Linked DNA regions of Homo sapiens: region 1 is linked to region 2. Evidence: promoter capture Hi-C in human tissues and cell types (Jung and others, 2019). All regions are on one chromosome and are shown on one strand. The core of a region is centred on a gene start or on the middle of the fragment in contact, and the rest is flanking DNA. Distances in the headings are between cores, read along the strand shown. Region 1 has its middle 4.2 kb from the start of LINC03028. Region 2 holds the start of ABI1 (abl interactor 1).

Region 1 (4,402 bases), core at 836-3,335, 290 kb after region 2:
ATCTCTACTAAAAATACAAAAAAAAAAATTAGCTCGGTGTGGTGGCGGGCACCTGTAATCCCAGCTACTTAGGAGGCTGAGGCAGGAGAATTGCTTGAACCCCGGAGGCAGAGGTTGCAGTGAGCTATGATCACGCCATTACACTCCAGCCTGGGCAACAGGATTGAAACTCTGTCTAAAAAAAAATGGATTATTAAATATTGATCTAGTATTTACTGTAAACTCAGCACTTTGGGGTATATCAGTGCTGTATTTAGTTTTATTATGCTATATTTAGTTTTATTATGCTCCTAGAGATTTTTTTATCTCTATCATAGAATTTTCAAACATTTACTAAGGTAGAGAAAATTTTAATAGTTTAATGAACCTAATTTACCATTTAATCAGCTTACTAACAATTAATACATTGCCAATTTTGCTTCATCTACACCTCCACACACTTTCTCCATATTCCTCTTTATTGCCTTAATTGAAGTATAATATACGTATCCTCAATTTTTTGGAAATTCAGACATTGTATCATTTCCTCTACAAATATTTCCATATGCATATCTAAATGCTAATGACTTAGAACACAAACAGTCCTTGACATCATATGACCTTGAGGCAAATTAGCAATAACTCTTAATGTATCAAATGAAGTATTCAGTCAGTTTTCAACATTTTCCTATTGTCTTGTAAATTATTATCATCAGCATTATCTTATAGTTATTTTATTTATTTATTTATTTGTTTATTTTTGTGACGGAGTCTCACTCTGTTGTCCAGGCTGGAGTGCAGTGGCGCAATTTCGGCTTACTGCAATTTCTGCCTTCTGGGTTCAAGTAATTCTCTGCTTCAGCCTCCCAAATAGCTGGGATCACAGGCGCCTGCCACCATGCCTGGCTAATTTTTGTATTTTTAGTAGAGACCGGGTTTCACCATCTTGGCCAGGCTGGTCTTGAACTCCTGACCTCGTGATCCACCTTCCGCAACCTCCCAAAGTGCTGGGATTACAGGTGTGAGCCACCGTGCCCAGCCTCTTATGGTTATTTTAATTGGGATTTGAATAAGGAGTATACATTAAAATTAGATGATAAGACGTCTTAAGCTTCCTTTGATATCTTTGAGTATATCACCTACATGTGTCCCTACATCTTTTTTCACTTGCACTCCATTGGTTCCTTTAGTTTCGATTGAAGAAACCAGATTATTTATCCTGTGGTATTTCAACATTCTGCATTTTTCTGATTGCATTCTGTGGTATTATTTACTGAACCTGTGATATAGTTTGGATGTCCCCTCCAAATCTCATTGATATGGTTTGGCTCTATGTCCCCACCCAGATCTCATCTTGAATTATGACCCCCATGTGTGGAAGGAGGGACTTGTGGGGAGGTGATTGGATCATGGGGGCCGTTCCCCCATGCTGTTCTTGTGATAGTGAGAGAGTTCTCATGACATATGGTAGTTTAATAAGTGTCTGGCATTTCCTCTTCGCTCTCTATCTCCTGCTGCCATGTAAGATGTGACTTGCTTCTCCTTCACCCTCTGTGATGATTGTAAGTTTCCTGAGGACCCCCAGCCATGCATAACCATGAGTCAATTAAAACTTCCTTTATAAATTACCCAGTCTCAGGTAGTTTCTTTATAACAGTGTGAAAATGTACTAATATACTCATGTTGAGATACAATCCCCAATGTTGGAGGTGGGGCCTTGCGGGAGGTGTTTGGGTCATGGGGACAGATCCCTCATAACTTGGTGCTGTCCCACTGATGGTGAGTGAGTTCTCAGGAGATCTGTTGTTTCAAAGTGTGTGGCACCTCCCTAGCTTGCTCTCTAGTCCCAGTCTCTCCATGTGAGAAGCCTGCTTCCACTTTGCCTTCTGCCATGAATGGAAACCTCCAGAGGCCTCCCCAAAAGGTGAGCAGATGCCAGCACCATGCTTCCTGTAAAGCCTGCAGACCTGTGAGCCAATTAAACCTTTTTTCTTTATAAATGACCCAGCCTCAGGTATTTCTTTATAGCAACAGAAAAACAACCTAACACAGCATGTGTCTGTGCCCCCTGTATTTCTGTAAATATAGAGCTTCAGTCAGATTCAGAATTGATTTATTTGTCAAAAATAATTGAAATACCGAGCAAACATCTGCCTCAGTGAATGGCCACTATTTCTTCTATAACTACATTTATGTTCCATTTGAATTTCACTTTGTGTTATCCCTTTTTTCTTTTTTTTTTTTTTTTGTTTGCAGTTTCATGTTTGTTGACCACTTCCCTCTTTTGATTGTTCATTTTTGTAAAATGTCACGTGAGCGTCTCACTGGGAGACAAAGAGGCAAGACAACGACATACTTTGTTCTCTTTATAAACTCAGTAACAAATATGCAGTGATTGGCAACCTCATAATTTGAAAGAGATGATGGGTCACTGATCATGATTGCATCTGTTATTTATGTTGTGATTTGTGGACTGAAGAGCTCACACAAAGTTTGTACTTTACGTAATTACTCACAGTTAAAATACCATGGCAACTGAATTTGGAACCATGTTGGGGAACTCACGTTATTTAATTAAATCGTAGTTATTGGAACTAGGTGGAGCAGTGATGACCTGCACCTCTTTTTTCCTGATGTTTTCTTTTATATCTGCAATAAACATTTACAGTTTTCCTTATAGACTTTGAAATTGTCTATCAATTCTAAAAATATTTTAGTTCTTGTTGCTCTTCTGAATCACCCTTTATACTACATTTTACAAATGAGCTTCACTGATATATAGTACACAGGACAGTTTTTAGTTTCTCTACTTAATAGCTTTTAATGGATTGCTTGACTTGGTTTTTAAATTTTAAGTAGATACATCATCTGAGAATTTAAAAGTCTGTCTTTTCCATTCAGATATTTGTTACCTTGTTGGTTTTGCTGTTGTGTGCATTGGCTAGAGACTCCAGGATAATGTTGAATAATATTAATTATAATACTGACTTTAATGGTGTATTAGTCTTGTCTCTTATTTTCTGAATTTGATGCTTTGAAATCTGGGCCTTGTTGACCCTGGAGGGACTGCCCCTCTGAGGATAGGCTAATTGCTGGATGTAATAAACAACTTGCCTGCATGCATGACTTTCCTATATAATCCAACCAACCCAGAGTTTATACCCCCTTCTTTCTCATCTCTTCCTCACTCTTTATTCTTCTTTATCTCTGTTTATCTCTTTTGCAGTCTTTATTCTTCCTTATCACTCTGACATTTCTGGCCACTGTTCTGCCTCTCTAATTTCCTCAGGGCCAGATAGCAGCCTCTTCTTTCCAGAAGACAATGAAATATTTAAACTAGCCAATGCTAAGCCTGATTGCCCTGACTTGCTTGTTCCCTCCCATGGAACTGCAATAAAGATTCTTTCCCATGTTTTCCCCCATTCACGTTGCCTCCTGACTGACCTTGATGTTTCCCTGTCCTCCCCCTTGTGGTGTGCTGTGCCCACAGCTTCTAAGGAACTGTGAGTAGTAAAATAAACTACTTCCCTCATGACAGTCATTTCTGTGTTTGTGTGTCTTACCGTTACTGATTAAAACAAATTCTGGGTAGTATGAATGTAAGTGACATTTCTGTTTGTGCTTTATTATTAAATATGTCCTTTGCTGTAGGTTTCAGACACCTTTCATCAGTATAAAAACATCTTCCTCAGATGCTAGCTTCTTATGAAGTTTTAAATTTTGTTAACAAGCAGTGGTGTTGAATTTCATCAAAAGCCTTTTTGATATTTATTGAAATAATTATTTGATTTTTCTCCTATGAGTTTTTCCAATAAAAAATGATACTGATTGAACAATAGGTTAAAATTAAAGTTTCATCAAAGACCGCCAGAATATAATAGCTCTGAAAGTCCAAATCACCATACGTAGGTTTTCATAGCAAATATCCGAGAACCTGCTCCACAACTGTTAATTTCCCCTATTTACTTTAACAATATGAAAGGATGTAGAGTGGAGAAGACTGCAGGGAACTCTTGCCTTGCACTCTCCCCTATCTTGCCTTTGATAGTCATATGTATGGAGAGGAAAATAATGCAAAGTCTCAACCCTGGGTTTAGAGGAGGAATCCTTAGGGGGCCGCCAGGACAACTGACCAAAAAACTCTGGGAACTAACAAGCAGTTATAGCAAGGATGCAGCATACAGGGTTAATGTAGAAAAGTCAATTGCAATTGCTCTTTTAACACCAGCGATGAGCAATTGGAAGTTGAGTTAAAAATATACCATTATGTTCACATTCCTCCCTGCAAATGGAATACTTAGGTATAAATCTAACAAAATATATAAAAGATCTAGTAGGAAACCTACAAAATTTTGATTTAAGAAATCTAAGAAGAACTAAATAAATAGAGAGATAGTCCACGTTTGTAGATATGAAGGCCTAG
Region 2 (4,296 bases), core at 1,416-3,915:
GAGGTTTAATTGGTTCCTGGCTCTGAAGGCTGTACCAGAAGCATAGCTGCTTCTGCTTCTGGGAGGCTTCAGGAAGCTTCCAAAATGGCAGGAAGGCAAAGGGGAAGAGAAATGTCTCATGTGGCAGGAGGGGAGCAGGAGGCAGGCGGGGAGGTGTCATATACATTTATTTCATTTTTTAGACATGGTTTCCTTCTGTCACCCAGGCTAGAGTGCAGTGCTGTGATCTTGGCTCACTGCAATCTGTGCCTTCCAGGCTCAAGCAATCCTCCTACTTCAGCCTCCCAAGTAGCTGAGTCTACAGGTGCTCACTACCACACCTGGCTAATTTTTCGTGTTTTTTGTAGAGACGGGTTTTTGCCATGTTGCTCGGGGTGGTCTGGAACTCAAGCGGGAGTAGTTCGTCATGTTGGTCTCCCATTTTGGGAGTCAAGTGGATTCTCCCACCTTGGTCTCCCAAAGTGCTGGGATTACAGGCACAAGCCACTGCACTGGGCTGTCATACACTTTTAAATGACCAGATCTCAGGAGAACTCACTCGAGATCATAAGGAGAGTTCCAACAGGATGCTGCATAACCATTCGTGAGAAATCTGCTCCATGATCCACTCCCGCTTCCCCCAGGTCCCAACTCCAACATTAGGGATTACAATTCAACATGAGATTTGGCAGGGATGCAGATCCAAACCATATCAATCAGTAACCTAGGAAACTTGACGGCATTTTCAGTGCCCTTAGCTAAACTCCTTAACCTATCTAAGCTTAAATTTCCTTATTTGATAAGGAAGGAAAATAATATTTATATTATCTGTCTCTCAGAGTTGTGAGAAGAAATCTGACAGTACTTTTTATTTGTATTTATCATCATCATCATTATTATTCATTCATTGCTCAACTGCATGGACAGTACGTTGAAAATAGTAAATTAGTATCACCTCCCTAATCACTTCCCCAATGTTGTTGAAATGTGTCAATATTTGAATATATACAAACTGAGTGATTTCTACAGTTAAACCTCAAGTAGAGACCAAGATCAATAATACATTAAATTTTAATAACTTGGATTAAGTCGTGTTTGGGTTAACGATAAATATCAAAAGATAACTATTACACCTATTCCAGATAATAAATGTATTACTTTCCATAATATCTGGAATAGGTATAATAGTTATCTTTTGATAGATTCCTTGATGGAGAATCTGGTGGCAAGGGGAAGTTAACGTTTTTAGTAGGAAACTGAGTTTTTCCTTTCAGAGGTCGAAGAGGGAAACTGGTTCCCTGGGGCCCTGAATAAGGCCCCAGTAAAGGCAATATTCAATAAATACCTGGTGCTGGCAATTTTTAATTTGGTTGAGTGATGTTTTTACTCCTAGTTATTTTGATTCTAAATGACTTTATGGAGATACATGAACATATGTCCAAAGTCTTTGGACAACACTTTTCATAGCTGATTATATCCGAAGCATTTAATGTTCCTGTTGAAGTGAAGAGCTTGAAATATAGGGCCTTTTGAGACTATTCCAAAGCAGGTGATAAAAACAAAACAAAACAAAAATCCAGGAGCAAAAAACGAAGGATCAGGGTGGGTGGCTCATGATTGTAATCCTAGCAGTTTGGGAGGTTGAGGCAGAAGGATTGCTTGAGGCCAGGGGTTCGAGACGAGCGAGGGCAACATAATTTGATCCCTGTCGCTATAAAAAATTAAAAAGCTCAGCCAGGTGTAGTGACCGACGCTTGTAGTCCCAGTTACTCTGGAGGCTGAGGCAGGAGGATCGCTTGACTTTAGGAGGTCTAGGCTGCAGAGACCCATGATTGTGCCCCTGTACTCCAGGCTGGGTAACAGTGAGATCCTGTCTCAAACAAGCAAACAACTCCCACCCCTAAAAAAACGTGCACATGACCTTAAAAGTGTAGGAAGATTACATGATAAGGAGAGTCAGAGAAAAGAGAAATTAGGACAGGAAAGCACTACAAGCTATGTATGTTTATTTTATAATTGAGTCTTTAAGGGTACGGAGTATTCGTACTCAACTTGTACCCCCAGTGTCTAGTACGCTGCTTGGTAAACAGCTGGCAATCAAGAAATGTTTGCTAAATTTTAAATGAATTGATGGGGGCGGAACTTCAGAAAGTAAAGCCTGACTCGCTTTATTTCTAAGAAGGCAGAGGAAGTAAAAATCTAGTTTTCCGTACTCTGTCCCCTTTTTAATCCTTCTCTGAATGGGTGTCCTTGATTCACTGACATTTCCTAATTAACCAAGTTCTGCCAAGTTTCACATGAAACTTGGGGAACCGATTTCATTCCCCCAGTATCACCCTGTGGCGCCACCTTCCGGAGCTGTGAGGAAACTCCGGACTTCCCCCCAACACCGCCCCCTCCCTCCACCCTCGGTCTCCGCTTTCTGCGCTCTGCCGCGTTGGTTTTCGGAGGTGTCTGGGCGCATGCGCTTTGGACGGGCCGCCTAGCCTAGGAGAGACTACAATTCCCAGAAGACAGTGCGAAAGAAAAAAAAAATCCCGCGGTCCGTGGGGGTGGGAGAAATAAACGCTCGCGAGAGAACGAGGTTCAGGCGGCTGCACGAAGGGGGTGGAGGGGGGCTGGAGAGAGTGAGGAGGAAGGGGAGGAGGTGCCGTCCCACAATACCAGGCGGGAGGGCGGGTAGGCGGTTTGTATCCGGGCTGTGAGGTGCTCGGAGCCTCGGCGGACCTTGCTGCCTCTGTCTCTTTAACGCGAGAGGAAGCGATGCAGAGGGGTGGAAAATGGCAGAGCTGCAGATGTTACTAGAGGAGGAGATCCCGTCTGGCAAGAGGGCGCTGATCGAGAGTTACCAGAACCTGACTCGGGTGGCAGACTACTGTGAAAACAACTACATACAGGTGAGGCGCTCTGGCGGCCGGCGGGCGCTGGCCGGGTCGAGGACCCGCCGGAGTGACCAGCCCACTGGGCGGGGTGGGGAACTGCCCTGACCTCAGCGGCTGCCACCAACCCGAGCCCCTACCGCAGCCCCAACCCCAGCCCCAACCGGGGACAGAGCGAGTGGCCGGGCTGAGGGAGTCGGGCTGCGATACAGGAAGTGGCTGTGGTGGTGGAAACCGATAGAAGGGGAGAGAGAAAATGGGCGAGGGAGCCGGGAGCCCGCCGCTGCCGCAGCCCGGCGCCCCCCTCGCGTCCGCTTCCCCCAGGGCCCGGCCACCGGGGTCGCGCGCCCCCCAGGTAGCCTCCAGTCCGCAGGGCTGGAGTCCCGGAATACCCCCGAGCTGCCGCCGCGCCGCCTCTCTGCGCCGGGAGAGGAGGTCCAGGACGGGAGAGGGGAGAGGAGAGGGCAGGGACGAGGCTGAAGCCGCAGAAGGGAGAGGACCAGCGGGGTGTGTGTTGTGTGTCGGCGGAGGGTGGGGTGGGGGCGATTATGTCAGTTTCAGCCCCCAGAGGGTGTGTCTTTTATTTATTTATTTATTTAAAAAAAATTTGTCATGAGTCACATTACACCGACCTCCCGGAGGAGAGGAGGAAGCGGGTGTGGGGAGTGAGGGAGGGCGTTTGAGAGAAGTTCATCTTAAAATTCCTTTAATTGAAGGTTTGTAAATCTGTCTGCTTGTCCATTTTCAAGTCGGGTTTTTTTTATTTTTTTCCCCCTCTCATCGTTTTCACTTCCGCCCCACCATAATGTATTCTAAGAGGTTGTTAGGGCTGCTATCATTAATTATCAAACACGAATTGTTCTTAACTCCTTGGAAAAACGGCTTACCCTCCCTTCTCCCAAAAGTTCTTGAGCTGTAGGCTTCATAAGTAACTTAAAATAGACTGGTGTCATCGCCGGTTGCTTATTTTCTGAGGTTTCTCTCTTAACAAGCTAAGTAAATGTATAGTATGTGAATCCAAATACAGAAACGAACAGAGGTAGCCTCTGAACTACAACGTAAAAATATCTGTTATTGTAAATTAGAAAACTCTTGGGACTTTGTGACAGATGCTTGTTTGTTCGTTTCTCTTTGGATGATTGGAAGTGAATTGTGTGTGGTAGTTTGTTTTGAAGATCTTTAACTGTGTAAACCAACAGTTTGCGCTAGAAACAAAGTAGCACAGTCCTTTGTATAAATATAAAGGCACCAGGAATGCTCTTGCTTTTGGTAAGGCAAGGCCAAAACGTGCTTTGAAAGGTTAGGGTTATTGCAATTCAGAACTAAATTGTTTATAGAAATGTCTCCCATGTGATTATAATTTTTAAGAACCGATGTTTCTGTGTTGGCAAATGCTTCCCCTCTTTATTTTTAGAGGGAGATGCTGTTTTCAGAATGT

Evidence for each region. Contacts are between HindIII fragments. The study calls those that stand out against the background at their distance.
Region 1: a contact is called between a fragment that was not itself captured here and the fragment with the promoter of ABI1 in region 2, in 2 of the 25 tissues and cell types used here (dorsolateral prefrontal cortex and spleen).

What each region holds. Positions count from the first base shown.
Region 1 is chr10:26,572,919-26,577,320 of GRCh38, reverse strand. No RefSeq gene overlaps it. Among named protein-coding and RNA genes, the nearest start is that of LINC03028, 4.2 kb to the left of the region's middle. The HindIII fragment of the contact is 4,216 bases long and covers 1-4,193 here.
Region 2 is chr10:26,859,327-26,863,622 of GRCh38, reverse strand. It overlaps ABI1 (abl interactor 1), which reads left to right and starts at 2,665. Exons shown (of 11, transcript NM_001012750.3): 1 at 2,665-2,876. The coding sequence starts at 2,760. RefSeq lists an enhancer at 2,423-2,622 and silencers at 2,943-3,032, 3,143-3,292. The HindIII fragment of the contact is 8,705 bases long and covers 419-4,296 here.